Regions from separate parts of the Homo sapiens genome. Here all the other regions are linked to region 2. Evidence: promoter capture Hi-C in 16 types of primary human blood cells and fetal thymus (Javierre and others, 2016). All regions are on one chromosome and are shown on one strand. Each heading gives the region's core, a stretch centred on a gene start or on the middle of the fragment in contact. The rest is flanking DNA. Distances are from core to core; before and after follow the strand shown.

The links. The method cuts DNA at HindIII sites, captures the fragments that hold promoters and counts their contacts. A CHiCAGO score of 5 or more calls a contact.
Region 1: a contact is called between a fragment that was not itself captured here and the fragment with the promoter of COG1 in region 2, in 1 of 17 cell types (M1 macrophages). The highest score is 5.1, in M1 macrophages.
Region 3: a fragment that was not itself captured here is called in contact with the fragment with the promoter of COG1 in region 2 in 1 of 17 cell types (M0 macrophages); the score reaches 5.9 in M0 macrophages.
Region 4: a fragment that was not itself captured here is called in contact with the fragment with the promoter of COG1 in region 2 in 2 of 17 cell types (total CD8 T cells and naive CD8 T cells); the score reaches 7.9 in total CD8 T cells.

Annotation. Positions count from the first base shown.
Region 1 is chr17:72,964,630-72,969,994 of GRCh38, reverse strand. The region is part of intron 4 of SLC39A11 (solute carrier family 39 member 11); the gene reads left to right. Among named protein-coding and RNA genes, the nearest start is that of SLC39A11, 130 kb to the left of the region's middle. The HindIII fragment of the contact is 1,170 bases long and covers 3,452-4,621 here.
Region 2 is chr17:73,189,848-73,195,118 of GRCh38, reverse strand. COG1 (component of oligomeric golgi complex 1) reads right to left here and starts at 2,064. Exons shown (of 14, transcript NM_018714.3): 1 at 1,735-2,064. The coding sequence starts at 2,049. RefSeq lists a silencer at 1,573-1,782 and enhancers at 1,833-2,112, 2,743-2,792, 2,078-2,837. The HindIII fragment of the contact is 5,644 bases long and covers 1-3,351 here.
Region 3 is chr17:72,940,250-72,946,067 of GRCh38, reverse strand. The region is part of intron 5 of SLC39A11 (solute carrier family 39 member 11); the gene reads left to right. Among named protein-coding and RNA genes, the nearest start is that of SLC39A11, 150 kb to the left of the region's middle. The HindIII fragment of the contact is 1,441 bases long and covers 2,852-4,292 here.
Region 4 is chr17:73,359,713-73,365,644 of GRCh38, reverse strand. It overlaps SDK2 (sidekick cell adhesion molecule 2), which reads left to right. Exons shown (of 45, transcript NM_001144952.2): 38 at 250-387; 39 at 3,800-3,961. Among named protein-coding and RNA genes, the nearest start is that of CDC42EP4, 51 kb to the right of the region's middle. RefSeq lists enhancers at 156-658, 1,123-2,098, 3,916-4,587. The HindIII fragment of the contact is 1,781 bases long and covers 1,169-2,949 here.

The sequences.
Region 1 (5,365 bases), core at 2,787-5,286, 230 kb after region 2:
CCGTTGGTGTCTCTTTCCCTGGGCTTCGGTCCCCGGACCAGCCTCACTGCAGGAAGATTTCATTTTAGGAGGAGGAATCTCTGTTCCAGGGGCTGGCCTGCCAGGCTTGGGCAGAATATTTTAGAGGCCATTATATTCTGGGATGAACCTTCCACACTGTGGCCTGTGTCATAATTTTTTTTAAATATTAAAGAGAAAACCAACAAGCTCTCTGCCACCCATCTATTTTAGTGTTGCCATCCGTTTCCCTAGTAACCAGGGAGATGAGTTGGGTGTGTTTCCTTCTGGATTGTCTGCTGTGTATTTATATACATAGGTTTTGAAAATTTATATACATAATGTAGAGGAAATATTAGAGGTGTGTGAGTGAGAGAGAGAGAGAGAAAGATGGGGAAAAGGGGAGAAGGGGAAGGGAGTAGGGGGAAGAGGATGCGAGAGAGGAGGGAACAAGAAGGAACGTGAATGCCATATTGTTGGCATCTCAAGGTTCCTGGTTGGTGTCCATAAGGCATGACACAGAAGTGGTTTTGAACTCCGGAGATGCCTTGGTTTTTGTCCCCAGGGGCTTGTTTTAGTGGAGAATTGAAATGGATCCTGTCCCTCTTCTGTTGGTCCCACCCCCTTTTTCCCTCTCTCCTCTCTCCCCTGAATCTGGCTGTCCTCTTCTGTAAGACCCTGTTCTCCCTCCGCACATTACAGCCCTCCCTGGAAAGTCCTCTGGTGGGCGCTCGGTGTCTAGCTGCTGCCAATGAAGCTGGCTTCATTTTGGTCTCCTTGGAACCAGCTGGTTTTCCCATCCTTACCCTAGGCCTGGGCCATCATGTTTAAGCTCCAGTGAAAATGTCAAACCCTGTAACCTTCCTGCAATATGTTCCCTGAGGGCAGTGTGACTCCTTAAGTTGAGGGAATGTGTCCCAGACATGGGAAAAGCCTCCGAGAGCCCCGTGCCTCCAGAACACGGGACATCGTGGCCTGTCCTTTGATGGCATTGGCTTCCCATGGTAGACCTGAGCACGTGCATCAGAGATGGGTGAGCCAGAGGACCCTGGACTCTGATCTCCTACTCAAGCAGGGGACGGTGTAGGCGCAGGGCACAATGACATTGGCTTGGGAAATTAGCCAAAAGAAAAAAAAGAATAAAAAATAATTCTTTCCTTTCAGTTAACTCTGGGAGGCCCAGGGATTGTGTCGTCCGCACGTGTGTAGAACCTTCCTTGGCCGAGAAGGATCGTGTCTTGCTCTTTGTGAATTCTGTGGTGGCTGCATTTTTCTTACACAGGAGTCAACACCACGCTTTTTTCCTCTGTCCTTTGTGTAGAGTTCTGTAGCCTGTAGGTGCTGATGGGCGGTCGGGGAGGATTCTGCCCAAATGCACAGGTGTGTGTGAAGAGCGAGGCCTCTGTGGTCACTCTGTCCCTTGCTGCTTAGTCCACCACCTGCACATCAGGCTAGTTCCCACCTTGGGCAGAAGCAGAGGGACAGTGGTCTGACTGGGTTGGGGAAACTGAAAGACCATTAGTCACTTCCTTCTGTGTGACCTTATGCATGACCTGTAGCCCTTCAGATTCCCAATGGGTTTCCTCCACACAATTGTCCTGGTCTTAGGAATGGAGAAAAAAAGAAAAAAGAGAGAGAGAGAGATCGTCATGCAGCTACTTTGCTGTGAGTTGGTCTCGGCTCTGGTGGAACCTGGGCAAACTCTTCTCTGTTCTCTGGACTGAGTCTCAGGCTCTCCATAGTTACCTCGCAGATGCCTTCCTTTTAAATTCTAGAACTGATGTCTTCCCTTCCTGCTTTCCCGCTTAGCTCATGGGGTTTCTGGGGCAACAGCTAATTTTCTGGACATGCATCAGCTCCTAAAACCAAAAACAAACATTGCTTTCCAGGCCCACAAGGGAACACAATCTTTTCTCCTTGTTGCTCCCAGGCCGGGATGCAGGATGATGTTACAGGTTGGATGGGGGCTGATGCTGTCAGGAGGTGGAGAAGAAGGAGGCTGGGGTCTGGGGTGGAGGAGAGGGGGTGGTGAATGCTATTAGTTCTCCACGTGTAGACAATTGTAACAACCGAGGGTGGAAAAGAACTGAGACTGCAGAGAGGAAAGCGCCCTCCTTAGCTCTGCTGTTAAGGGGCTGGGCACAGTTATTAACCTCCCTAGTTGATCCCTCATGTCCTGGCAGTGATGAGCTCTCCAGCGGCTCTCAACATTAATCTGAGGCTGATTTGCTGGCCTGGAGCATCCACTCTGAAGGTGCACAGTGCGAATGCTTTGTGCATTGCTCCAGCTGAAGATACATGTCAGAGAAAAGCAATCAGTACCTTTTGCCTCTGATGGGTTTGTGTTTTTTGCAAAGCACTCTCTCCTCTGGCTGTTGGAGCTTTTCGTCACGGATTATTTTTCCTGCTTGGGAAGGGATGCTTTTGATTTTCCTAGCTTAAGTTAGCCCAACCCTCCAGGGACCTGTGGACATACCACCCTCTTTTGCCTGCTTCCTGGGCGGGCACTCTGGTGTGGAGGCTGGTTTTAGGATGGCTCCCAGGATATGCTTAGGAGCTGGTCTTCTAGATAAAAGGAAAACACACACACACACACACTCTCTCTCTCTCTCTCTCTCTCTCTCTCTGAGCATGCTTATATAGCATTTTCTTCTCATGAGGGTGTTTTCTTATAATAAAAAGGTATAATATCTCACTCTAGCATAGTAGTCCCTAGCCTTTTTGGCACCAGGGACCAGTTTCATGGAAGACAATTTTTCTACAGAGCGGGGGATGGATGGTTGTGGGATGATTCAAGCATATTACACTTATCGTGCACTTTATTTCTATTATTGTTACATTGTAATCTATAATGAAATGATTATATAACTCACCATAATGGACAATCAGTGGGAGCCCTGAGCTCATTTTCCTGCAACGAGGTGGTCCCATCTAGGGGTGATGGGAGGCGGTGACAGATCATCAGGCATTAGATTCTCATAAGGAACGCGCAACCTAGATCCTTTGCATGCACAGTTCACAATAGGGCTCATGCTCCTTTGAGAATCTAATGCCGCTGCTGATCTGACAGGAGGTGGAGCTCAGGCAGTAATTCCAGCAGTGGGGAGTGGCTGTAAATACAGATGAAGCGGCCGGGCGTGGTGGCTGACGCCTGTAATCCCAGCACTTTGGGAGGCTGAGGCGGGCGGATCACGAGGTCAGGAGATCAAGACCATCCTGGCTAACATGGGGAAACCCCCTCTCTACTAAAAATACAAAAAATTAGCTGGGCGTGGTGGCGGGCGCCTGTAGTCCCAGCTACTCGGGAGGCTGAGGAAGGAGAATGGCGTGAACCCGGGAGGTGGAGCTTGCAGTGAGCAGAGATCGCGCCACTGCACTCCAGCCTGGGCGACAGAGCGAGCCTCCGTCTCAAAAAAAAGAACAACAACAATAACAAAAAAAAACAGATGAAGCTTCCTTTCCTCAACCCCCTGCTGCTCACCTCCTGATGTGCGGCCCGGTTTGTGACCTGGGGATTGGGGACCCCTGCCCTAGAAGATCTGTTAATTTCTGAAACTACTATCACTTCCAGAACATTCCCATCTTTCACCTGAGTATATGTGCTAAGCCTCCCTCTGTGGGGGGCGGTAGTAATTCTCAACAGATAATCTTTGTAGGAGGAATGCCCACACCCGAAAGAGCCTGGGCCGGCTTGCGTGGAGGTCACAATTTTCTCAGTTTAAACCTTCACCTTTGCTGAGAGTTCTTCCTCTCTGGAACCCACTGGATGTGATGTTCCCACAGGGAACCTCTGACTGAGAAAGGCAGCACCACCCAGGCCAGCAGGGGTGCCAGCCTGCGCCTCCCTTGGATGCCCTGTGGGTTTTCAGTGGCTGCGTTGCCCTCAGCTGGGCCTGTCACCCTGGTTCAGCAGAATGAAGACCTGCCTTGCAGCCAAGGGCTCTTTTCCTCAAGGTGTGCTACGACTTCTACAAGTGGCTTGGAAACTTATGGGGAGGGGTTGGAGCCATTTTCTCTTCCATGGAATGGGAGTTGGTGTCTTTTTTTCTAGAAATTTGTAGGTTTGTGGATGGTTTGGTATAGAGCAGGCTTCAGGGACTATTCAGTCTGAATTCCCTAGTTTTATGAACAAGAGTTGAAGTGACAAGGTCAGGTATCTAACAGCAGAACTTCCTCTCTGTTCAGATTTCTCAGCTGTTGGCATGGTGTGGCACCTTGTATCTCCCTGCATGATTTTCTGGTCTTCCATCCTGGTATCTTTTCCACACATTAAGCCTCACCTCCTTCCTTTTGGAGATACTCCTTGACTTACAGTGGGATTACATCTCAATAAACCTATCATAGCTGAAAATACTGTAAGTCAAAAATGCATTTAATACACCGAACCTGCTGAGCATCATAGCTTAGCCCAGCTACCTTAAACGTGCTCAAAACACCTACATTAGCCTGCAGTTGGGCAAAATCATCTAACACAAAGCCTAGTTTATAATAAGGTGTTGAATACCTCATGAAACTTACAGAATATTGTACTGAAATTGAGAAACCGAACGGTTGTATAGGTATTCAAAGTGCAGTTTCTATTGAATGCATATCACTTTTGCACCGTTGTAAAGTCAAAAAAGCTTGAAACGCCAGAAACCAGGGATCGTCCATACTTTTATCCATCTCAGCATTTTTCTAGTCCCATATTTCCTCCAGCTTTTTTTTTCAACCTTTAGAGATGTTTTATTCCAGTTTCTTTTTTTTTAAATTATACTTTAAGTTCTAGGGTACATGTGCACAAGGTGCAGGTTTGTTACATATGTATACATGTGCCATGTTGGTGTGCTGCACCCATTAACTCGTCACTTAACATTAGGTATATCTCCTAATGCTTTCCCTCCCCCCTTCCCCCACCTCACAACAGGCCCCGGTGATGTTCCCCTTCCTGTGTCCAAGTGTTCTCATTGTTCAATTCGCACCTATGAGTGAGAACATGCAGTGTTTGGTTTTTTGTCCTTGTGATAGTTTGCTGAGAATGATGGTTTCCAGCTTCATCCGTGTCCGTACAAAGGACATGAACTCATCCTTTTTTATGGCTGCGTAGTATTCCATGGTGTATATGTGCCACATTTTCTTAATCCAGTCTATCATTGATGGACATTTGGGTTGGTTCCAAGTCGTTGCTATTGTGCATAGTGCCGCAATAAACATACGTGTGCATGTGTCTTTATAGCAGCATGATTTATAGTCCTTTGGGTATATACCCAGTAATGGGATGGCTGGGTCAAATGGTATTTCTAGTTCTAGATCCCTGAGTAATTGCCACACTGTCTTCCACAATGGTTGAACTAGTTTACAGTTGTTGGCATACTCTACCTGGTTTCAT
Region 2 (5,271 bases), core at 815-3,314:
AGCGTTTTAATAAACCCTGAAGCATGACTCAGTTACAGCAAAGGCTGGCCACCTAAGGGGACACGTGTACTAAATGTTAGCTTTGGGAGGGATGAGGTCACTCATTTCAAAAATATGCAAACTTATTTGCAACTTCCTATAGTTTTATTGTGTCAGTCCAGTCTACTGACCAGGATTTCTGTAAAGCTCAGATAGCATGAACAAGTTCCAAATTGGAGTTAGACTGTACTTTTCAATTTTTTCTTCTATGTCCCAGTAAGTTCTCCCAGGCTGTTAAAAACAACTAACTGTTTACCTTTTTCACCCTTCATGCCCTTTCACTTCGTTCATTGCTAGGTCTATATTCTTTAAGGGGCCGTGCGCGGTGGCTCTCGCGCCTGTAATCCCATCACTTTGGGAGGCCAAGGCAGGCAGATCACATGAGGTCAGGGGTTGGAGACCAGCCGGGCCAATATGGTGAAACCCCGTCTCTACTGAAAGTACAAAAATTAGTCGGACATGGTGGCAGGTGCCTGTAATCCCAGCTACGCGGGTGGCTGAGGCAGGAGAATCGCTTGAACCCGGGAGGCGGAGGTTGCAGTGAGCCGAGATCGCGCCACTGCACTCCAGCCTGGGTGACAGAGCGAGATCCTGTCTCAAAAAATAAAGAAATAAAAATTCTTTTTTTTTTTTTTTTTGAGACAGAGTCTCGCTCTGTGGCCCAGGCTGGAGTGCAGTGGCGCGATCTCGGCTCACTGCAAGCTCCGCCTCCCGGGTTCATGCCATTCTCCTGCCTCAGCCTCCCAGGTAGCTGGGACTACAGGCGCCGGCCACCACGCCTGGCTAATTTTGTGTATTTTTAGTAGAGACGGGGTTTCACCGTGTTAGCCAGGATGGTCTGGATCTCCTGACCTCGTGATCCACCCGCCTCGGCCTCCCAAAGTGCTGGGATTACAGGCGTGAGCCACCGCACCCGGCCAATAAAAATTCTTTAGGAACGCAAGCTGCAGCTCCAATATGAGGATGTGTTTGTTTACCTCCCATCCTTCCTCATTGTGTCTAATCAATAGCGTTTGGGGGGAAGAACACGGGATAAGGAGAACCTGAATGAAAAAAGCCTTAGTTCTGAAAATGAAAATGTTCAGCTATTAAAAGGTAAGGGCTTGGCCGGCTGTGGTGGCTCATGACTGTAATCCCAGCACTTTGGGAGACCCTGTCACATACATACATAAAGTTAAGGGCTTGATAGCTGGTACCCTCAACAACTCCCAAAGGGTAGAACAGCTATTTGGGGTTGTGGAAGTTATTCTTGGGGAGATAAGGGGAAGGTTGGGATGAGGAAGAAATGACTTGGAGTGCAGGTGTCAACATAGGGGAGAAACCTGAGGAAAAACAATGTCAGGACATGTTATATAGGTGAGCGTTGAACTGTCAAGACAGAAACTCCTGGCGTTTTCCGCTAAAATTGAAAGGAGCCCAGTGAGGTGTAGGAATCAAGGCCCGGAAGTCGGGGGAAAGCGCCTGAAGAAACTGTTGAATGGCATTTCCAGAACGGATCAGCAGCCGCATATGTGCAAGGAAGGCTGGCACTGTCCTCTGAGGGGGGCCCAAAGGGTGAGGGGCGGATAGGCTCCTGGCTAAGGAAGGTGAGGACTCGCGGGGTCTGGGACTGACAGAGGGGGGCGGGGTTGACCTGCAAGGCCAGGGGCTCCGGGACCCGCCTGCGGGTCGCAGGGTGGGGGCACGGGGACTGACCTGCTGGGCCCGCGGTGGCCGGGGCGCGGCCGAGCCGGCCTGGCGGAGGCGGGCGCAGTACTGGTCGGTGGCCTTCACGGCGTCCACTAGCCCCACGGCGCAGCGGCGCATCTGGCCGATGGTGTCGGCCGCCTCGATCAGGTCGCGGTACCGTTCGCCCACCATCTGCCGCAGCTCCTCCTTCTTGTGCTCGATCTCGGCCCGAACCTGGCGCTCCAGCCCGCGGATCTCCTCCGCTCCATGCGTCTCGAAAAGAGCCGCAGGGTCGCGCAGATCCAGCCGCTTCAGCGCGGGTGAGGTTGCCGCGGTGGCCATGGTGCACTCGTCAGCCCCCGGCGATCTACCTACGCCCTTTTAGTCCCGCCCCCTCCGCCATCTTCGTTGGGGGCGGAAGCGCTTCCGCCCCGCCGGGGGCCATGTTTGTTACCCGAGGGGGCGGGCGCGAGGGGGCGGGCGCGAGGGGGCGGGCGCGAGGGGGCGGGCGCGAGGGGGCGGGCGCGAGGGGGCGGGCGCGAGGGGGCGGGCGCGAGGGGGCGGGGGCGGGCGCGGGCGCGGGGGCGGGCGCGGTCCTGCGCGGGGTTTTCTTAAACGGAGCCGGCTGGGAAGTGAGGTCGCCAGAGAGGTGAGGTCGCCAGGTTGGCTGCGAAACTGTGGCTGAAGTCTTCCCTTTCCCTTAGGAGCAGAGCTTCTCTGTGGAGTTAGGTGTCGGGATCGGGCCCCGCGGACTGACGGCGTTGGCGCAGGCGCAGCCGCCGCTCTCCGCGCGCCTGGCGCCCGCGAGCAGACTCGGGCGCGCTCGCCGCCGCTGGGTCTCGGATCGCACCCCGCGTGCAGTTTTAGGAAGAGGGACATCCGCGCCCCTCGCTGTTCCCCGGGAAGAGCTACCACGCCGCCCCTGAAGGGGTTCTGAGCGCTTGTTTGGCGTCTGCTTTTCCTCTGCTGTTGATTCGTGTTGGAGGTTTTCCATTTCGTTTAAAACCGATGTTTAGCCCCTGAAGACGTTTTCCCTGCGAGAGCCTGACCTTGGTGGCCATGGGGGAGGAGGGCGGCGGGCTGGGCGGGAGAGGCTGGGACGCCCCGGGGAACGCAGCGCCAGACGGGTGGGCGCTCCTCACGTGGCCCAGGAATAGTAGAATCTGGAGATTGTGGCTTGTTTCTGCTAAGTCCCAGACCCTTCTTTTTTTTTTTTTCTGTTTTAATTTCTTTTGGAAGATTTCACCCACACCAGTGTCGACAAAATGATGCAATGTGCGCAGCGGCCATGCTGAGCCCCCAGCAACTCAGGGCCTACCCTGCATCCCTGCTCATTCCCTCTCCCACCCGCCACCTCCGGACGCACAGAATTTCAATCTGCAAATAAATGGTGCATTTATAATATTCCAGTTTAACCCGCAAGAGCCTTGCGGCGTAGGGAGTATCATTCTCACTTTACAGACTCATTTTACAGATGGGGAAACGGGGGCCCGGAGAGGCAAAGGGTTTTTTACTCAGTAAAAGTGCAGTTTTCAGAGCCTGTCCACGAGATTATCTCATTTTCTCGCACATCGGCCATGCCAGGTAGGTAGGAGTAATATTCCTAGTCCATTTATGAGGAAAAAAAAAAAAGAAACAAAAGCTTATTTACCTGCCCAAATTACATAGCTGATAGGTGACCCAGTGAGTATTTGGACGTCGATTTTTAAATTACTGGCTCGCGCTCTTTTCTACGTTTTCACATAATTTCCCACAGAGCACCCTCTGTTGGCAGGCCTGCAGTTTGCAGTCTCTAATCCCATTCTGCAAGGGACACTTACTGGTATTCGGCTGATAAGCATCCGCAGTATCTCCTTTCTGTGATTGGGGAATTCATCGCTATCTAGCAAAATCTTTTTTTCTGGCGCCCTTTATAGCTACGGTGCCAGCCTGCGGCCTGGGACTGGCACAGCAGGCACAAGCGCCTAGGACTTGGGTGAAGAGTTAGTGACATTAAGAAGCAGGCTGTAATCCCAGCACTTTGGGAGCCCAAGGCGTGTGGATCCCTTGAGCCCAGGAGTTCAAGACCAGCCTGGGCAACACGGCCAAACCCCGTCCTTACAAAAAAATACAAAAAAAGGGGCGCGCGCCGGGTGGCTCATGCCTGTAATCCCAGCACTTTGGGAGGCCGAGGCAGGCGGATCACATGAGGTCAGGAGTTCGAGACCAGCCTGGCCAACATGGTGATACCCTGTCTCTACTAAAAATACAAAAATTAGCTGGGCGTGGTGGCGCACATCTATAATCCCAGCTACTCGGGAGGCTGAGGCAGCAGACAGGAAGCTGAGGCAGGAGAATCACTTGAACCTGGGAGACGGAGGTTGCAGTGAGCCGAGATCGAGACACTGCACTCCAGCCTGAGCGACAGAGTGAGGCTCCGTCTCAAAAAAAAAAAGAAAAAGAAAATTAGCCGGGAGTAGTGGTGTGGGCCTGTGGACCTGTAGTCCCAGCCACTTGACAAGAGGCAAGTGAGGCAAGAGGATCACTTGAGCCTCTGGAGGTCGAGACTGCGTCAGTGAGCCATGATTGGGCCACTGCATTCCAGCCTAGACAACAGAACAAGACCCTGTCTCAAAAAAAAAAAAAAAAAAAAATCGCAGGTGACAGGGGCGATTGCATTTTGGTGGTGGCACAGGTATCACCGGCAACATCCACTCCCTAAGGACAGCAAGGGCAGTGAACTTAGCTCCAGCTCCCAGCTGCTAATGCTGGCGGTGGTGCTGGTGGCAGCCGTGGGCACCCACAATGACGTCCTCGACAGAATCACCATGTGGTGTGCTCGTCTAGGTTTTAAATGTTCTGTTTCCCTTCCTTCCTTCCTGCCTGTCCCCTGAACCTGCCTCCCCATCTTTCCCAGAGATTCTATGAACTGTGCAGTGTCTTACTGATCAATTTTGTTTCTTTGAAAATCAAAATCGGTTTCCCTGGTTTGCCCTAGCCCTAACTGATATACACTGCACTAAGGTTCCAGCTCCATGAGAGTTTGGTTGAAGCCTTTCTTACAGCAAGGGGAGAAATGTCAACATATCAGGGATAGTGGGGGGCCCAGGGCTTTGTATGGGATGGTCCTTGCGCTTGTGCACAATACCTGTAAGCTCAGGTAGAGAAAAGACAAACTGGCCAGCTGTCAACACTGCAGTGTGTGTGTGTGTGTGTGTGTGTGTGTGTGTGTGTGTTCTGAGTCAGGTAGAGAAAAGACAAACTGGCCAGCTGTCAACACTGCAGTGTGTGTGTGTGTCTGTGTGTGTTTGTGTGTGTTCTGAGACAGGGTCTCACTGTTGCCCAGGCTGGAGTGCAGGGGTGCAATCACGGCTCACTGAAGCCTCCACCTCTTGGGCTCAAGCAATCCTCCCACCTCTGCCTCCCTAGTAGCTGGGATTAACAGGTGTGCACCACCATGCCCGGCTAATTTTTTAATTTTTGTGTAAAGACAGGGCCTCACTCTGTTGCCCAGGCTGGTCTCAAACTCTTGGGCTAGAGGGATCCTCCCACCTCAGCCTCCCAAAGTGCTCGGGTTACAGGTGT
Region 3 (5,818 bases), core at 2,323-4,822, 250 kb after region 2:
CTGTCTATTTTCACTAACATGACTGCGCTGGGCTCCTGGGTTCCCCTTTGAAGACCTTATGATCCTGATTGTGAGTCTTCTCTAGGGTATAAAAGTTGGCCAGACTTTATCTGATTTTTCTATCTTCAGGGCCATGGGCTGGTGGGGTCGGGGGAAGGTGGTACAGTGAATTCAGTGCCTGTCAGTCAAAAAAGGTAAACATTGGCAAGCCCTTGGATGGACATTTTCCAATGGAGTCACAGCCGGGACGGGGTCAGGGGAGTTGGCTCTGCAGGACAGCCTCTGGGTACTGCTGGGTCTTCTTGGCCAACCCAGAGTTAAGTGGTAGCGGAGTGAGGTGTGTGGGAGGGAGATGTAACCCAGTCCCCCTGCTCAAGAACACTAGGCACAGCCTGTTACCGGGTTACCAAGCAACCCTTGTAACCGTTGCTAGCTGTTCAGCTGCAAAAGCAAATGCAGCTCTTGGGGAAGCACAGAGATGATCTCCCAGCCATCTCTTGAAAGGTCGCTGTTCTTCTCACCTGGACACACCTGTGGGTGTCAGGCACCTGAGGACTCCAAAACTGATAATGGCTATTTGATAACTGGCTTCATGCAGATGGAGCCTGAATATGCATTATTTGTACCATCTGGATTTGCCCTTAAGCTTGCTGTAAATGGAGCAAGGAGATGGGTTTAATGGGTATTTAGTGAATAACATTAGCCTTTAAAACATCATATTGGTGCTGCTGTTGTAATGTCCCATAATTGGTTCGACCAGAGGAAGAACTAGAAAGGCCACACTCTGGGAGAGGAGTTCAGCTGCTCTGAGGAGCAGCAGCAGTGACGGCAGCCTGAGCTGGGAAAAGCATTTATGAGATACTTTCCTATTTAGGTCTTAGTGTGCAATGTTTTCTGATATCAGCTATTCTCAAGGCTGGGGATATTTTGGGACTTAGGTAGGCCAGAAGAAGTTCCTTTAAATCTATCAGTCTCTCTTTCTTTCATTCTCTCTCCCATCCATCCATCCATCCATCCATCCATCTCCAATTAGCTTTCTTTTAATTAAAAATATAATGACATCGGTTAAAAGTAATTTTTCTTCCACCTTCAAATCCCTTATGGTCTAGTCCCCCCATCTCAGACACAAACATCGTTTCTAGTTTCTTGTGCATCCTTTCAGAATTATCATGTTTCTATAATCACACCTGACCCATTGTTCTGTATCATATGTTTTTGCACTTAACGGTACCCTTGGGTGTTTTTTTCCTGAGGTGCTCATAGATCCATCCCATTCTTGTTATTGGCCATGATGCTACCTAATTAGCCCTCTCTGGATGCCCATGGGGTTAATTCTGATGCTTTGCTATTGCAAAGAATGTGGCACAGAGCATTTTAGTATCTACATCTCTGTGGACAGTTATATTGTTGAGTAAATTCTAGAAATGAGGCCAGGAGTTCTTTATGTCTGGGCTCCATGCATGAGTACCAAAGGACTCACGAGCCTCTTGCATTTTATGCAAAGTCTGTGTGTGTGTGTATGTGTGTGTGTGTGTTTGAAAGGCAAGGGACTATAAGTTATATTTCATCACACCCCAGATGGCTGCATACACCCAGTGTTGTTCAAGATCTTGGGCTTCTCTGTCTCAGTTGTCCCCACTCAGCTGTCAAGTTGAGTTTTTTTTCTTTTCTTCATAGCATCCTCTGTAGGCTAAAGAGAAGGTAGTTAAAAGTGAATCAGTTGATTCTCTTACTAATTGTTAATTTCCCCATTTAAATATGCAGTATGTTCTGGGGGAGGAAGTTGAAATGTTACCAAGCATCAGTGGGCTTGCTGCCCGATGCACACAGAGGCCAATACCGTGGCACTGGCTTTTGAGAGAAGAACAGCTTTATTGGGAGTCAAGTCAACTGGCAGGGAGACAGGAGGGAATGCCCAAATCTGTCTCCCTGAGCTGGGGGTTGGGTTGGGTTTTATAAGCATAAGTAATGAGGTGTGATCTGATTGGATCTTGCAATGAGGTGACGTTAGGAGGCATTATCTGATTGGATCCTGTCATGGGGTGATGCCAGAGTTCAATCTCATTGGATCCTGGATCCTGCCATGTGGTGTCTGCTTCTTAATTCAGTCCCACTCCTCTGTCCCAGCACTTAGGTTCCCCCTGTGGTTGTACACTTGGTTCATCTGAGCATGCTTAGGTTACATGACCTGAGGGTCCATGGCAACTGAAAAGCAGCTCACAGCTTTGTTACATAAAAGTTGAACCAGATTGGTCTGATGCAGTTATAGATACTCTTCACTAGTGAACTTTGTCATCACTATTATTATTGGTGAATTTCATCGGTCTATTAGCATAGGAGAATTGCCTATCATTTTGTGTATCTGTGGAAAGACCAGGAGAAGGCATTATTTTCTGGTAGAGCAAGAGGTGGATTTACTTTAGGAGATTATTCAGTTGTGAGGTGCCATCTGTGCATTTTCTGTAAATCTTTCTGAAGTGTTGGGGGAAAAAGTGAATGGGTACTCAAGTCAGGGAAGCGTAAGCCGTACGACACTCAGGTAAGAAACAGATTTTTCTCTTAATGCCCTATTCTTATAGGAAAATTCACTTGGCAATAAGAATTCTGCCTACACAGCCTTGCAGATCTGATGCAATTATCAAAGCCATGTTTTGCAAAATGAAACTGATGCCAAGCTCGTGTCAAGTGGATTATAGATTGTAGAACTGCAGTCACTGGCCATTAGCTGAGTGTCTTTGTTTTCTACTCTAAAATCTTGAATTCCTTATTGGTTCTGCTTCTGATGTGCTGCGTGGCACTCTTCCTGTGGAAATGGTCTTGCAGGAGATGATTTTCCTTTCTAGCTCAAGCTTCTCAAGTGCCCAACCCCGGATCAGCAACCCCAGGGCTTGTCCTGTTCGGGAACACGATGGAGTTCAGTTGCTCTTTGATCCCCTTCTTCCACCTCAAGACACTCTCTCTTCTCCAGGTATCACAGTGTCCTCTTTCAGTCTTGTATTTGGAATCATCCCTTTCTCCCATTTTCCCTGTTAAACATCCTCCCTTAGGTGCCTTTGGAAAAAGATTTGATGAACTGAAGAACAGGGAGGTATTGGCCCATTGACTTCATGTTTTACTACTGCTTACGTGTTTGTCTGTTGACTGGGAACGGTTTCTCTAGTTCAACAATGAACCCAATAGGTGGGTTTTCACACTGGCTAGGCTTTGGAGGATTGCATTTTTTTAGACATAATGTGTGGGGCTTAGGGAGGGCAGCCAGGCAGTGTGGGATGCAATCTCTTCTCTGAAGCAGCTGGTTCTCGCTATAAGCTCAGCCACGTACATTCCACTCCCAAGTTTCCTTGGCGCTAAAACTGCTTGGAATAGCCTAAGCCTACGGAAGCAAAGATGACTTATTTAAACAGCTTCATGGTTCCTATTACCTTTCTTTTTCTGTATCTTCTAACTTTCCATGTCTTCCTGAAGGACATGTTCCTTTTGTCACTGATATTTCCAGTCAAATTTAGTGATCTTAAATTTGATCGAGAGTGAGGTGTAACTCCTAGGAGAAATTCTGAGTGTTTATAACTAGGTTTCCGAAATAATGTGTTTGGGGAAGTCTCTGAGATGTTATTAATTTTGACTTTTTATTGGTAAGATCTCTAAAAATGAAAGAGTATTTTCACAACAGTTCATGTAGATATAATTTCTTGGCATGTGGTTTTGGCAATCAGAGTTTTATTTATTTATTTTTTTCCCTGTACCTGCTTGGTTAGGGGAGACTTTAAAATCTTGTCCTGGCCCAATTGAGAGGAGTTATCTAGGAACTGAAAAATAGGTAGGCCCTGGCTGCTACCTCCTTTCTGGGCTAAGACCCGTAACCTGGGTTTCTTCATTTGAAGTGTGAGAATGCACGTGTAATCCCAGCACTTTGGGAGGCCGAGGCAGGTGGATCACCTCAGGTCAGGAGTTCGAGACCAGCCTGGCCAACATGGTGAAACCCCTGTCTCTACTAAAAAAAAAATAATAATAATACAAAAATTAGCCAGGCGTGGTGGCACATGCCTGTAATCATAGCTACTTGGGAGGCTGAGGCAGGAGAATCACTTGAACCCAGGAGGCAGAGGCTGCAGTGAGCTGAGATTGTGCCACTGCACTCCAGCCTGGGCGACAGAGTGAGACTCTGTCTCAGTAAATAAATAAATAAATAAATAAATAAATAAATAGAATGAAGCAAACCAGCGTTAAAATGTGCCGCACAAAAATATTTTGCAGGAGGGCAAAGGGCTCAATAATAATAACTGCCAGAAGCTTTTTCGCATCTGGATATTAAATAAACAATGCAGAGATACCTTCTTGGACAGGGATCTGTGCAGGCAGCATGAGACCGTTAGTGTCCTAGCTCATGGGAACATTATCAGGGTGGGTACGCTTTATAGAGTCTTTTGCTTCTGAAGAGTGTTCTATTTGGCCTAATATGGAGCACTCAAATAGCACTTTATCTGCTTCTGCCTTTTAAAAAAAAAAAAAAACACAGTCCTGATTTTCTAAGCCAGGCAGTAATTTCAGAGCAAATTTTCATGTGGCATGAGGCTAGAGGCAATTTGGCACTCACATGTGTTTGCTAGGGCTGCTGTAGCAAAATACCACAAACCGGGTGGCTTAAACTGCAGAAATTTATTTTTTTCACAGTTCTGGAGGCTGGAAGTCCAAGACTAATAGTTGGCAAGATTGGTCGGTTTCTTCTGAGGCCTTTCTCCTTGGCTGGTAGATGGCTGTCGTCTCCCTGTGGCTTCACATGGTCTGTCTTTTTATCGAGACAGAGTCTCACTGTGTCACCCAGGCTGGAGTGCAGTGGTGCGATCATGGCTCACTGTAGCCTCAACCTCCTGGGCTCAAGCTATCCTCTCACCTCAGCCCCCGGAGTAGCTGGGACTACAGGAGTGCGCCACCACACCTGGCTAATTTTTGTATTTTTTTGTAGAGATGGCATTTTGCCGTGTTGCCCAGGCTGGTCTTGAACTCCTGGGCTCAAGCTATCCACCCACCTCGGCCTCCCAAAGCGTGGTCTTTCCTCTGTGCCTGTCGGTGTCCCAATCTCCTTTTCTTATAAGGACACCAGTCATATTGGATTAGGGCCCACTCTAATGACCTCATTTTAACCTTATTAACACTTTAAAAATCCTATCTCCCTTACAGTTACATTCTTAGGTACTGGGCGTTAGGACTTCAACATAGAAATTTGAAGCGGGGGACGTGATTCAGGCCATAGTTGCGCTGAACAATTTTTTGAGAAGTTGTCTTCCAGAGATAGTAGTTAGCTTCAAGGAATTCCAGGTGTCAGGAGAAAGGAGTTCTCTTTGTTTCTGCCTTCTAGATTCTCTCACTGCATGGCTGCCTCCTTACGTTAGCCTCATACCTGCATGGGCTGGGAATGCAGACTATGCAGGATGAAAAAAGAGTAGAATGAAGTTGAAAAGTTACTCAAAGAGTGCAGCGAGAAAGAAAGTCAGGGCCGGGCGCAGTGGCTCACGCCTGTAATCCCAGCACTTCGGGAGGCCGAGGCAGGTGGACCACCTAAGGTCAGGAGTTCGAGACCAGCCTGGTCAACATGGTGAAACCCCGTCTCTACTAAAAATGCAAAAATTAGCCGAGCGTGTTGGCACATGCCTGTAATCCCAGCTACGTGGGAGGCTAAGGCAGGAGAATCACTTGAACCTGGGAGGTAGAGGTTACAGTGAGCTGAGACCACGCCATTGCACTCCAGCCTGGGCGACAAGAGCAAAACTCCATCTCAAAAAAAAAAAAAAAGTCAGATGGCTCTAAGTCTGATCTTTTA
Region 4 (5,932 bases), core at 810-3,309, 170 kb before region 2:
AACTTGAGGGAAAAATCGAGTTCTCTTTCTTCCCAGTTCTTAGGACTCTGATACTGGAAAGTTGAGAGAGGAGAGGAAGGGGGCCTGATGGCCTCCAGTGACCCCTCCTGCCCGCCCTTTCTGCCGAGCCCCACGCTCTTGTTCCTCCCGGGCTCAGACCCAATACTCCCGCTAGCTCCTTGGAGCTGAACCCGAGGCTTTGAACTTCCACAGAAGAAGGAAACAAAAACCCTTTGCTGTCTCCCGCAGCCCCCAGCGCTCCCAGCTCGGTCAAGTTCAGTGAGCTGACCACAACCTCAGTGAATGTGTCCTGGGAAGCCCCGCAGTTCCCCAATGGCATCCTGGAGGGCTACAGGCTGGTGTACGAGCCCTGCAGCCCCGTGGATGGTGAGTGGACCCCCCAGCACAGCTCCCCAGCCCCCCACTTTGCAAAAGCTCGCTCTCATCTCAGCGCCCATCACAGCCACTACACATGAGTGAGATTCGGTGAGAGTCTCCCCATCTTATAAACACGGAAACTGAGTCCCAGACAAGGGAAAGTGCATTTCCAAGGTAAAACAACAGCAAGTTGAGGGCAGAGTTGGAAGAGAGATCCAGGTCTCCTAACTTCCAGGCAGAGAATCGTTAAATATATTCTTCCCCCTTTGGTCAACGGAAACAGGGAGGAAAGGAAGGGAAACCTGAGTGGACAGGGCTCTGTTGAGACCATAAAGAAGGGGGGCAGCCAAGGACGGTGGCTCACGCCTGTAATGACAGCACTTTGGGAGGCTGAGGCGGGTGGATCACCTGAGGTCAGGAGTTCCAAGACCAGCCTGGCCAACATGGTGAAACCCCGTCTCTACTGAAAATACAAAAATTAGCCGGGTGTGGTGGTGGGTACCTGTAGTCTCAGCTACTCGGGAAGCTGAGGCAGGAGAATCGCTTGAACCCGGCAGGCAGAGGTTGCAGTAAGCCGGGATCACGCCACTGCACTCCAGCCTGGGCGACAGAGCTAGATTCCATCTCAAAAGGAAAAAAGAAAAGAAAAAGAAGAGGGGAGCCCCTGAGGGTCCTACTTTGCCCTTTCCCAAACCTTAGGGTTCTCAGCTTTACTGTGGGTTAGTCCTTCTTTAGCTTTGGTGGGAGTCAGGAACCCCTTGGAGAATCTGATGAGAATCTGACCAAAGCTTCAGAGCCTCTCCCCAGGAAGATACACAAGACCAAGGAGGTCCCTGCACCCCCCACTGCTATCTGCGGACCCCAGATCAAGAGCCCTGCTCTGCAAATGACCTCGCTCTTGTCCTTAACCCTGTTCATCTGACTGGTCTTCTGACCCCTTCCTCCGGGCCCCAGCTGGGAACCTGCCCATTTCTGGGCTCCTAGGCTGGGCTGCGCAGCCCCTGACAATGGGCATCTGGTACCTGCCAGCTTTCTACCCCTGGTAACATGCCAAGAAATCCCTGCCATTTTGTTATGAACAACCATCCTATGAGGATGGGATTTAGGCAGGAAGGAAACTGCGTTCCTCACTGCCTGGGACTAGTCCCAGCCAGGTGCTGGGGGTGTGGCTGACCTCTGGAGCCACCCCTCTCACTCTCACCCCCTCCAATCACGGAGCCTGGCAAGAACAAGGGGCAGAGACCTGGGAACATCGTTGTGACCAGCAGTTCTCGGTGAGCCTAGGGAACAATGGCCCTCAGTCTTCCCTGCTACCACCTGGGTGCCAGCAGCTCGTTCTGCAAAGGGGAGCTGTGTGTTAGAACACCAGGGGGGAGCCAGGCCCCAGCAGGAGATCCAGTCAGGTGCAGGGCCGGAGTGGGGCAGAGGACAGCAGTCCCCGAGACAAGGTACAGGGGGCCAGCACAAGCCCTCTTCACAGGGGCCTCAACCTGGCCTGTCCAGGACCCTCTCAACTTGAGGATGTGAGCTCTTTGCCTTCCAATTCCACAGTCTGGTGGGATCTGGACTGTGTGGCTCAACTCCACACCCCTACACATTCCCATCTTCCCATAATAGTTCAGTTAATAAGTACAGCAAGACAAGGCCCCGCCTGGACAGCCCAGTGTCCACACCCCAGTTCATCCTGGGTTCAGGTCAATAGCAAACCAGCCTCACAAAAGCCCAGCAGCCCCCACTGTCCTGTAGGGAAAACCAAGGTCCAGGCAGATGAGGGCTTTGTTCAGAATTGTCAAGGAGCAGGTAGCCAGAGTCCCTGTTCCTGGTCCCAGGGTCATTTCATTCTTTCAGGAAGCCCCTCTGAGCCTACATTGTTCCATCATTTAGTAATCCACTTAGCGGCCGGGTGCAGTGGCTCACACCTGCAATCCCAGCACTTCGGGAGGCCGAGGCGGTGGATCACCTGAGTTCAGGAGTTCGAGACCAGCCTGACCAACGTGGCAAAATCCTGTCTCTACTAAAAATACAAAATTAGCTGGGTGTGGTAGTGGACGCCTACTCGGGAGGCTGAGGCAGGAGAATCGCTTGAACCCAGGAGGCGGAGGTTTCAGTGAGCTGAGATCGCGCCATTGCACTCCAGCCTGGGCAACAATAGTGAAAATCCACCTCAAAACGATAATATTAGTAATCCACTTAGTCAATAAATAGGTCAGGCACCTACATGCTCTGTTATTTTACTTAAAGCTCATAGCATCCCTGCCTAAGATGCTGTGGACACCCTCACTCGGCAGAACAAACTGAAGCCAAGTTAAGGGACATGCCGGGGCCGGCGCCATCACTGGGTCTGAGCCCAGCCTATTGGCTGCAAGGCCTGTCTTTCACTGGTGACTGGCGTGCTCGATGGACATGGGAAATGACACTAACCCCGGCTCCCAGGGAGGCTGGCAGTCAGGAGTATTTGGATTCGCGAAGCACAGAGTGCAAACCCCCACCTCCTGAAAGCTGGCTCAAGCGTCCCCTCTAGTTGCTGTGATTTGGGGTGCTGAGGCATCCTCACTTTTGCCCTAAAAAGCTTGGTGGACTGGGCATAGTGGTTCATGCCTATAATCCCAGCACTTTGAGAGGCCAAGGTGGGAGGATCACTTGAGGCCAGGAGTTCGCGACCAGCCTGGGCAACATAATGAGACCCTGTCTCTACAAAAATTTAAAAATTAGCCAGGCATGATGGTGCACACCTACAGTCTTAGCTACTTGGAAGGCTGAAAGTGGCAGGACGGCTTGAACCCAGGAGGTCGAGGCTACAGTGAGCCATGATTGTGCCTGAGCAACAGAGCAAGACCTTGTCTTAAAAAAAAAAAAAAAATTGTGGCAGATATAGGTGCTGGAGGGCCATGTGAGCTCCTGGCTGAACCCCAGAGGTGGAGCTGGAGTGGGGCTCAGGTGGAGGACCTGGTCAAAAGTGTGTCCCCGCAACTCTGGGCTTTTGGTATTTTTATGGAAGCACTTCCTGAAAAAGGATATAATTCTAGTCCCATGGGATGCTGCATAAGGGAATAGCAATGGAGCCGAAACATATTTGGGGTGCAGAGGTTACATTAAACAGGATGGCGAGTGTTCTCTTTTCTGTAGATGCTGATGATGGACCCTGTGGCTACTCAGTAGACACAGACAGTAGTAGCTTTTCCCAAACATACTGAACCATGGAGCCGTTCTCCCTGAGAACAGCAGGCAGGACCGTGCTGTGAGAAACACAGCATGGGCAATGTGGTTGTGTGGGCTGGGGGTGCATTTCAGCCTGACCTCAAGGAGTGAGGCCCCTACCCAGGGTCCCGGGGCCCAGGCCACGGCCGCTTCCCCTTCCCCATGGCCTCCAGTGCCCTCGGTGGGCCCTGTGCCCAGTCCCCACTTGCTGTGCCTCCCCCAGGAGTCAGCAAGATCGTGACCGTGGACGTGAAGGGGAACAGCCCCCTGTGGCTGAAGGTGAAGGACCTGGCGGAGGGGGTGACCTACAGGTTCCGCATCAGAGCCAAGACCTTCACCTACGGGCCGGAGATCGAAGCCAACGTCACCACGGGCCCCGGAGAAGGTAGGAGAGCAACGGACCAGGCATGTCTTCCACACGGCGGTTCAGCGTCCCCAGTCAGAAGGGGCCCCCGGTGTCAAGAGCTGTGCTGGACCCTGGAAACAGAGTGGAGGACAGAGCTCACTCTTTCCCCTGGTGCCCAGTGACCCCTCCCCCCGCTCCCTCCTCCCGGGCTCCACGCTTTGATTAATGTGTCCTCAGGTTCCTCAAGCCACAAACCCTGGAGCAGCGCCCCCTCCTCTCCCACTTAGGCCCAGCCCACAGGCCTGGCCTGGCCACTGCGCCTGCTTCGTTCTTTCTCTCCCTGCTAATTGCATGGCCTCCTTTACTTCCGTCCTGGAAGGATGCAGCCTGGCAGGTGCCCCTGCCTTTCGCCCAGCCAGAGCCATCTTCCCACGCCCCTGAACCACCCCTACCCTCCAGGCAGCGGTTCTCAGAGCAGGGCGCACTAAAATGCACGTTCCCAGGGTGGATGCTCCGAGGGGTTGATTTCCTGGGGCTGAGGTGGGACCTGGCAGTCTGCACTTAGACAAAAGCCCCTGGAGGCCGTGACAAAGTGGCACCTTGAGAAACACCTGATGGAGCAGGTCACCTATTCACAGCCAGGGCCCTGCCTCCCCCACCTCACCACCCACCCCCTCCGCAGAACGCCCTTTTGTGTGTAACTGCCCGCCCCTCACCCCAGGAAGTCTTCCTTAATCTCCTGTATTGTTTCTGTTGTTGTTGTTTGGGCTTTTTTTTTTTTTTTCTGGAGACAGAGTCTCGCTCTGTCATCCAGGCTGGAGTGCAGTGGTGCAATCTCAGTTCACTGCAACCTCCACCTCCCGGGTTCAAGCAATTCTCAAGCTTCAGCCTCCCAAGTAGCTGGGATTACAGGTGATTTCTACCACGACCAGCTAATTTTTGTATTTTTAGTAGAGACAGGGTTTGGCCAGGCTGGTCTCCAACTCCTGACCTCAAGTGATCCACCTGCTGCAGTCTCCCAAAGTGCTGGGATTACAGGCATGAGCCACTGTGCCCAATCGCCTCCTTTAAATGTCCTCTTCACCTCCCTTCCCCTCCCACCCCTCATCCCCCCAGGCATTTGCCATGGTCAAGGTTTAGCCCTCCAAAGTCCCTGTTACTGGTCAGTGTAGAATGTCCTGTCCTGAACACAAAAGTCACCTCCCAGACCACTCTGCTGCCTCCCTCCCTAAGAAGGGGTACAGCCCATCCTGGACTTCCCCTAAAATCCCATCTCCTCCTCTGCCCACCCCCTTCAGCCAAGAATGGCGCAGGCCTCCCCTCCCCAGCAGTCCCAATTAGCCTGACTCAGGAAGAGAGTCTTCCCCTAATGGCTTAGTCTGGCTGCGCTTCACTTTTTCTTTCTGGCCAGTCACTTTCTATTCCCCACAGTCTGGTTCTGCAAAGAAGCCCTGTAGCTCTAGGGCAAACTCAGGACAAAGCCTGCAGGAGGCAGCCCAGGAGCCACCCAGCCGCTGTCCTTTCATCTGCCTCCAGCCCCGCCCCGCGCTGCCTCTCACCTGAGCCAGCTTCCTGGGAAACAAAAGTAGGAGAGAGAGCTGGCAAGCAACTGAGGACCAAGCGTTGGCAGTGGCCTGGGGACAGGAGAGGGCTGTGCGGAGGACAGGCTGTTCTATCCTGAGGCTTGAAGTGTCCCAGGCTGAGAGGTGGGGAGGTGGGAGGAGATAAAGGGCAGAGGGTTCAGAGAAGGTAGTGGAGGGCACTCTGAGAAAGAAAGAACCAGCCGGGTGTGGGGGTTCACGCCTGTAATCCCAACATTTTGGGAGGTGGAGGCGGGTGGATTGCCTGAGCCCAGGAGTTCAAGACCAGCCTGGGCAATACAGCAAAACCCCATCTCTACAAAAATAAAATTATCCAGGCATACTGGTGAATACCTGAAGTCCCAGCTACTCAGGAGGCTGTCGTGGGAGAATCGTTTGAGCCCAGGAGGTGGAGGCTGCAGTGAGCTGT